Regions from separate parts of the Homo sapiens genome. Here region 2 is linked to region 1. Evidence: promoter capture Hi-C in human tissues and cell types (Jung and others, 2019). All regions are on one chromosome and are shown on one strand. Each heading gives the region's core, a stretch centred on a gene start or on the middle of the fragment in contact. The rest is flanking DNA. Distances are from core to core; before and after follow the strand shown.

Region 1 (3,925 bases), core at 217-2,716:
GGGCACAGGGGCAGGAGGCCCTGAGAGAGGCAAAGAGGCTTATTCCCCCATGTAAACACCACAGGGACAGGGCTCAGGGGAGGGCCCCGCTGGTGATCCAAGTACAGAATGCAGACAAGACACAGGCCGGGAAAGAAGAGGACCGATGCCCTTTGGGGCTTGCCCAGGCAAGAGAGAAGCAGCCACCCTGAAGGCCACATGGAGGCGTGAGGCCCCTCCATTCCCCCTGGGATGGGTGGGGGAAGAGAAGGAGTCTAGAGTAAACCAGGACAGAAGCACTTGGCCGGCCCGGCTGTACCGAATGGGAAGAAGGGAGCAGGGTGGGGCTGCCGGTGTCAGTCCCCAACGGTGGAGGCCGAGGGGCAGTGTCCTCATTAGGGCAGGGGATAGCTCCGAGAACCACGAGGAGCCCCTGTCAGGCTCAGCCCCTTGACAATGTGTGGCTGTCGCCTGTTTCCACATGGACAGGAGGGATACTTCCAAACCGGCTGGTGCAAGTGGAGTGCGGAGCAGAATCCTCAAGGACAAAGTCTGGGCTCGTGGGGAATGGTGTGTGTTCCCTCCTGGGGCCCGGGGAGGTGCCAGAGACACAGCTCCACAGTGTGGCTGGCAGCCTGGAATGAAGGCCACGGAGCGTCCTCCCCCAGCGGGGTCCACAATCCCAGGCTGAGCACACACATCCCCTCTCCCAGTTACCTCTCACACTTTGTCCTCCGAGCATTTCTGCTTCCCGATACCCAGACTTCCTCCCTAGGGGGCCTAAGGGCATATGCCCTCGTCCCCAGTCTCCTGACAGTGAGTGGAAGGGAGAGACCAAGGGGCCTGGTGATGGCTCTGAGCTGCGGAATGATGATGAGGCCCTGCCTTGCTCCACTCTCTTCCATCACCCTGTTACCTCCCCCAGAGGGACAGGGCCCGGGTCTGAGGATCTCCTCCAGCCCAGACCTGCTAGGTGGGGGAGGGGACGCGCCTGCCTCCCCTTTTAAATCAAGCCGTGCTGCTCAGCCTCTAGGATGGGCGCAGGAGCAAGGACGGTAGAAATAAAAGAGGTTATTAATAAAGAATGTGGGTGAGGTCCCTGGGAAGCCAGGCCTGCCACGCTCCCCTAATATTCCCCCCTCCAGTCCTGGGTGCCACATCTCCATGTCTCTGGGGGCCCCAAATAAGGACGCAGCGCCTTTAGGTGACTCTGCTGCACGAAGCTTCGGAGAAGTCCACCCGGGCTTTAACACCCCCGCCCTCCATCACAGCCCGCATCACCCCCCGCCGCCGCCGCACTCACACCACCAGGCGAGAGATGATCCAGGACACCATGGCGGGGCCGGGCGCGGCGCGGGGCGGGGACCCGGCCCGGCCGAGGATGCAGCTGCCTGAGGCCGAGCGGCGGCGGCGGCGGCAGCAGGAGCCGCAGTAGCAGCAGCAGCCGCTGCAGCAGCCGCCGCGGGGGCAGCGGAGCGCCCAGCGCCGCCGTTAAAGGGGAGGTCCCTGCCGCAGCGGCGGGCCGTGGGCGGTGGCGGCTCTTAAAGGGGAGGCCGGGAGGCCGCCGCGGCGGCGGCGGCGCGCCCCCGCCCCGGCACCTGCTGTGGCCGGGCATGCGCCTCCGACCCTCAGTGCCCTGCCTTCCTCGAATCGCTTGTTCATCTTTCTTGGGTTTCAAGCCCTAGGCTGTTGTCGTGGAGGTCTCCATGGTTACATCCTGAAATCGACCCCTGCCCACCTCCTGCCCTGCCCACACCAGGCGCTTACTGTGTGCCAGCCCCTGTGCTAAGAGCTTCACTGCGTTGCCAGTGAATCCTCTTGACCACCCTATAAGGCAGGCGCTATAAAAGCCCTCATTTTGAAGATAAGGGAATGAGAAGCTTAAGGCTCAATAATCTGTTGAGAGTCACAAAGCCACCAAGTCATGCTGCTAAGATGACCCCAGGAAGCCTACTTTAAACAGGTTACATCCCCCAACTGCTGACTAGCAAACTCTCCTCATTACAGGCCCTGAAGACATCCACCTGAGCTCCTGAGTCACAGGTACAGCCGCACCTGTCCACCCCACTCCTTCTCACCCCGTTGAAAGAGGATCTCCCCTGACCAGATGATGTTTTGTTTTTTTGAGACAGGTCCTCACTCTGTCGCTCAGGCTGGAGTGCAGTGGCACAATCTCAGCACACCTCCTGGGCTTGAATGATCCTCCCGCCTCAGCCTCCCGAGTAGCTGGGACTACAGGCCCAAAACACCACCAGCTAATTCCTGTTTTTTTGTTTTTTGTTTTTTTTTGCCAAGATGGGGTTTTGCAATATTGCCCAGGCTGATCTCCAACTCCTGAGCTCAAGCGATCCACCCGCCTCAGCCTCCCAAAGTGCTGGGATCACTGGTGTGAGCCACCGGGCTGCTGGTCTGCTTTTTTAGGTTGTCAGCTCCTAAGCTTTGCAGCGGAACAGAGCTTTATGCTCTCAATGTGGTTACTGACAACAAAGGGTCAACCTTCTTTTCAAACAGAGGGGCTGCGAGAGGGTCCTGGGGCTCCAGTTCCACCCCCATCAGCAAGCACTAGTGGCAGTGAATGTCCTGATTCTAAAGACATTTATATCCAGAATGTAGGCTAGCCTGCCTCCTGATCTTCAGGAAAGCAACCAACCTCCAACCATCCACCAACACCCCCAGCCCTATTGCTCTCCTTTCCTGTCCCATTTTAGAGCTTCTGCATTCCTCTACCCTTTATGTTGAGTTGTAATCCTTCGGGTGACCACAGCATCAACCTGTGCCCATCTGGGCTGAAAGGACACATTCAGAACTGTGTATTTCAAAGAGTCATGGTCTTATTCAAGCTCAGTATCCCTGAACAACACAATGGTCTATTTCTAACCTGGTAAATTATATTTCCAGGTTCAAACACTTTGGAAGATGTTTCCCAAAACGTTCCAGAAAAGCAGCCTCTGATAACCCCTCTTGCTATTCTTTACAACTTCCTCTCCAGAAAACATCTCCTAATTGGAATGCAGTCTGTTATCACCCCACAATGAAACACTTTAATTACTGCTTGATAAATCCCACATGAGTGTCTCCCACCATCTCTAAGGTGGATCTATGGCCACACGTTTCATGTAGGCAGCCAGGCTGCCTGCTTAAGAATCCCACCACAGACTGTCCAACTTTGCTGAGGCCACACACCATGACCCTTCCCCCCAGACTCTGCCACAGGAAGGGAGGACCCCAACTTTCCCACTCCATTCACAAAGCATAAAGTATGGGGAAACATGTCTCTCTTTCTACCCTCTAATTCATGTGGCCCCTTCCCCTTACCCCCAATTCCCCAAACCATACTGACCTCACCCTGGCACTTTCCTTTTTTCTAACATGGCACAGTCTCAACAAGCAAAGAAAAATATCTGGGTGTAGCACAGTCATGAAGACCTGGAAATGAATCCCCCACCTCCAACCCAACTCCCAATCTGATGTTGATTTTAGAAGGGTTGGTACACGAATAATTTAGTCCACTCCAAACAGATTTGTTAGATTTTTAATAAGAACATGGAAATCCCAATCAGCCCTTCAACAAAATTAAAATACAGAAAGTGAAATTAAAAGTATTCTACATTAAATGACTTTTATTTAAAAAAAAAAAAAAAAGTAACTGTGAACATATAAACAGCCTGCAGGGCACTACAGTACAGCTGGAGAGATATACATTTTCCAATGTACCTATGGGCCAATGAATCCCACCATTTTCAAATAAATCCTTAATCAGACTCCACTCAGTTGGAAAGTTTTGCTGAAAATATTTCTGGATAAAAAACAAAAAACCTCATGTTGGAAATCAACTGTCCTTCCCATTTGGAAACATTAAGAGGAGTCCCCAGGGAACACTGGTAATAGGTGAAAATGGTTCCTGGAGTCACCAGTGTTGTACACACACATGGGGAACACACCACAG
Region 2 (4,097 bases), core at 1,122-3,621, 250 kb after region 1:
GGGCGACAAGAGCGAAACTCTGTCTCAAAAAAAAAAAAAAAAAAAAGACACCAAAAAAACACATAGTTTTATTGAGGTATAATTTGCATACCATAAAATGTTAAGTCTACATTTCAATGAGTTTTTGTAAATTTATGCAGTTGTAACCATTACCATAATCCAGTTTAGAATACTCCATCACCCCAAAAAGTTCCCTCGTGTGTATTTGCAGTCAGTCCCATTCCCATCCCCCAGCAACCACTGCTTTGCTTCTTTATAGTTTTGCCTGTTCCAGGAATTTCATATAAATAGATTCTTGCAATATTTAGTCTTATTGTCTGGCTTCTTTCAGTTAGCTTTTTTTTGAGACACGGTCTCTCTCTGTCACCAGGCTGGAGTGCAGTGGCGTGAATTCCTGGGCTCAAGCTTTCTCCTGCCTCAGCCTCTGGAGTAGCTGGGACTACAGGCATATATCACCACACCTGGATACTTTTTATTTTTAGAGACAGGGTCTCACTATGTTGCCCATGCTGGTCTCGAACTCCTGACCTTAAGTGATCCTCCCACCTCAGCCTCCCATCCATTAGCATGCTTTTGAGGTTCATCCATATTGTAGCATGTATCAGTAGTTCCTTTTATTGCTGAGTAGTATTCCATGTTTGGATATGCCACATTTTGTTTATTCACCAGTTGATATAAGACAGATGGCTCTTATACTTTCTTCAGCTGAAATCTTTCACTTCCACTTTTTAAGACCAATGAGAATAGAACTGCTTTGATTCTTGTGTGAGACGGAAACTTAGAGCGCTACCTTTTTTTTTTTTTTGGAGACGGAGTTTTGCTTTTGTTGCCCAGGCTGGAGTGCAATGGCGCGATCTTGGCTCACCGCAACCTCTGCCTCCTGGGTTCAAGCGATTCTCCTGCCTTAGCCTCCTGAGGAGCTGGGATTACAGGCATGTGCCACCATGCCCAGCTAATTTTGTATTTTTAGTAGAGACCGAGTTTCTTCCTATTGGTCAGACTGGTCTCGAACTCCTGACCTCAGGTGATCCGCCCGCCTTAGCCTCCCAAAGTGGTGGGATTACAGGCGTGATCCACCACTCCTGGTCAGAATGCTACCTTTTTAACCCTTGAGGTACCTGTTTTTTTTTTTTGAGACAGAATCATACCTCTTTTTTTCCTTTTTTTTTAAGATGTTGTTTTGCTCTATTACCCAAGCTGGAGTGCAGTGGCACGATCTCAGCTCATTGCAACCTCTGCCTCCCAGGTTCAAGCGATTCTCCTGCCTCAGCTTCCTGAGTAGCTGGGACTACAGATGTGCGCCACTATGCCCGGCTAATTTTTGTATTTTTAGTAGAGACAGGGTTTTGCCATGTTGGCCAGGCTGGTCTGAAACTTCTGACCTCAGGTGATCTGTCCACCTTGGCCTCCCAAAGTGCTGGGATTACAGGCGTGAGTCACCATGCCCAGCCTGGGTACCTCTTTAGAAACCTAGGCTCCAAGGAATATAGTTTGAAAACCACCGATGTAAAGCATAATCTAAGAAAATGTATATATAGGCCAGATGTGGTGGCTCATGCCTTTGATTCCAGCACTTTGGGAGGCTGAGGCAGGAAGATCGCTTGAGCTCAGGAGTTTGTGACCACCCTGGCAACATAGGGAGACTGTCTCCACAAAAAAATTTAAAAATTACCCCGGCTTGGTGGCATGTGCCTGTGCTCCCAGCTACTTGAAAGCCTTATGTGGGAGGATTGCTTGAGCTCAGGAGGTTGAGGCTGCAGTGAGCTGTGATTACACTACTGCTTTCCAGCCTGTGTGACAAAGCAAGACTTTGTCTCAGAAAAAAAGAAAGAAAGAGACTGTGTATATAAATGCTGTATCCAGGTGATATTAAAAGGAATAAAAACTTGCAGTGTTTAAGAATACTTTTTTTTTTAACCGGAATGTGTGACAGATGAAATATATTTCCCAAGGGAATATTTCCCTTTTGTACAATTTGGGTGTTTTGCCAGGACTTTAGAGGGAATGGGTTATGGTTTCACGCCCATTTGGTGGAATGCTATCTATTTTAATGGACTTTTATTTTTACCTTTCTGATTATTCATTTTTTTGTTTGATTTTTAATCAGGCAATTATTACAGTTTACGTTCTCAGCATGAGAAAGCAGCCTTATATTTCCAGAGAGCCCTGAAATTAAATCCTCGGTATCTTGGTGCCTGGACACTAATGGGACATGAGTACATGGAGATGAAGAACACGTCTGCTGCTATCCAGGCTTATAGGTGATTATCTATAGGTGGTGAGGTAGAGCAGATTGCTGTGGTTAGGAGCCTCTAAGCCTGCAAGTTGCCAACCTTGATTCTGCCTTCTTAACAACCTGTCTTTTCCATTTCTTAGACATGCCATTGAGGTCAACAAACGGGACTACAGAGCTTGGTATGGCCTCGGGCAGACCTATGAAATCCTTAAGATGCCATTTTACTGCCTTTATTATTATAGACGGGCCCACCAGCTTCGGTAAGCCTGGTCACTTGACAATGCGTCTGATATGGGAAGGGCTAATAACTTTTTTTTCCTCTTTTGATAGCTATTGACAAATCACAGTGGATGGTTTTGGCTCTTGGGGATCTGAGGTTAAAGTTGCTGAAGGCTGTTTGGTTATTTTCATTTAGTATATTTCACTAATGGGTTAATAGTATAATTATGAACACAAAGTAATCTATTATATGGAGCATCAGGTTAAAGACCAGTTGTTGCATAGATTTGAAATAGTGGTGTACTGGTTCCTCAAAAGAGAACTTCAGTTTCTGTAAAGTCTTTGCTCAGACTGCCTGTTCTTCTTTCTCAGACCCAATGATTCTCGCATGCTGGTTGCTTTAGGAGAATGTTACGAGAAACTCAATCAACTAGTGGAAGCCAAAAAGGTACCTTAAATTGGGTCCTGAAGAATTTGAGTGGAAATCTGCTGTTTAGATGAAGGTTGGGCTATCTGTGCTCTAATTTTTCCCTTATTCTGATCTAGGTGCATAGGAAAGTCTGAATATTTATAGATACATAGTCTGAAAGCAAAGCTGGGCCAAGGTCATCAGTGGGAATGTCAGTGTGTAGCCTAGACCTATCAGAACTAGTAAAAATGTCTTGCATTCTATAAATCTGAACTTCTGGGAGGCTTGCAGGGTCTTAACCTTCATATGATTTAGTTGTGACACATGGGACAATGGTCAAAATGACCAGTTTATTTTTTTGACAGTGTTATTGGAGAGCTTACGCCGTGGGAGATGTGGAGAAAATGGCTCTGGTGAAACTGGCAAAGTGAGTGAAAGGAGTGAAATGCTATTGATATTTCTGTTGGCTTCTCTGGGATGGTGGGTCCTGCATGGTCTAGAGCCTCCCATACACCCATCATTCTACATAGGTGTAGGGATGTAGCAGGGTGTGTGAATGCTGGTTTGTGAATGTAGCCATCTTGTTCCTAGAGAATGCCACTTCTGGCCAGGTGCAGTGGCTCATGCCTGTAATTCTAGCACTTTGGGCGGCTGAGGGAGGTGGATGACCTGAGGTCAGGAGTTCAAGACCTGGGAGGTGGAGGTTGCAGTGAGCCGAGATCGCGCCATTGCACTCCAGCCTGGGCAACAAGAGCAAAACTCCATCTCAAAATAAAAAAAATAAAAAGAGAATGCTACTTCTCTTGAAGGAGGGCCGTTGCTTTCCTATTAAAGCAAGAGATCAAGATTGATTTGAAGAAAGGATAACATTTTTGTGTCAAACTACTTTCAGTATTAATTTCCTGCTAAGGGCCAGAAAAATTAGGAATAACTCAAATAGTAGGCAAAGAGGTTCTTAAATGTAAAGAGGTTCCTGTCTGGATTCTTAGGAAAAAAATTGAGTTGCTTGGTATCTTTTTTTTTTTTTTTGTAATTTATAGATAGGATCTTGCTGTGATGACCAGGTTGGTCTTGAAGTCATTGGTCTCAGCCAGATTAGAGAGTAGCTAGGATTATGGCCCTATGCCACCATGCCTGGCCACTTGTTATCTTTTTTTTTTGAGACGGAGTCTTGCTCTGTCACGGAGGCTAGAGTGCAACCTCTGCCTCCTGGGTTCAAATGATTCTCCTGCC

What was found. The method cuts DNA at HindIII sites, captures the fragments that hold promoters and counts their contacts. A contact is called where the count stands out against the background at its distance.
Region 2: a fragment that was not itself captured here is called in contact with the fragment with the promoter of REEP2 in region 1 in 2 of the 25 tissues and cell types used here (bladder and spleen).

What each region holds. Positions count from the first base shown.
Region 1 is chr5:138,436,598-138,440,522 of GRCh38, reverse strand. REEP2 (receptor accessory protein 2) reads right to left here and starts at 1,466. Exons shown (of 8, transcript NM_001271803.2): 1 at 1,283-1,466. The coding sequence starts at 1,314. KDM3B (lysine demethylase 3B) reads right to left here. Exons shown (of 24, transcript NM_016604.4): 24 at 3,496-3,925. RefSeq lists an enhancer at 300-833 and a silencer at 1,219-1,638. The HindIII fragment of the contact is 10,254 bases long and covers 1-2,138 here.
Region 2 is chr5:138,190,668-138,194,764 of GRCh38, reverse strand. It overlaps CDC23 (cell division cycle 23), which reads left to right. Exons shown (of 16, transcript NM_004661.4): 10 at 2,108-2,261; 11 at 2,377-2,496; 12 at 2,828-2,903; 13 at 3,230-3,291. Among named protein-coding and RNA genes, the nearest start is that of KIF20A, 14 kb to the right of the region's middle. The HindIII fragment of the contact is 5,036 bases long and covers 1-4,097 here.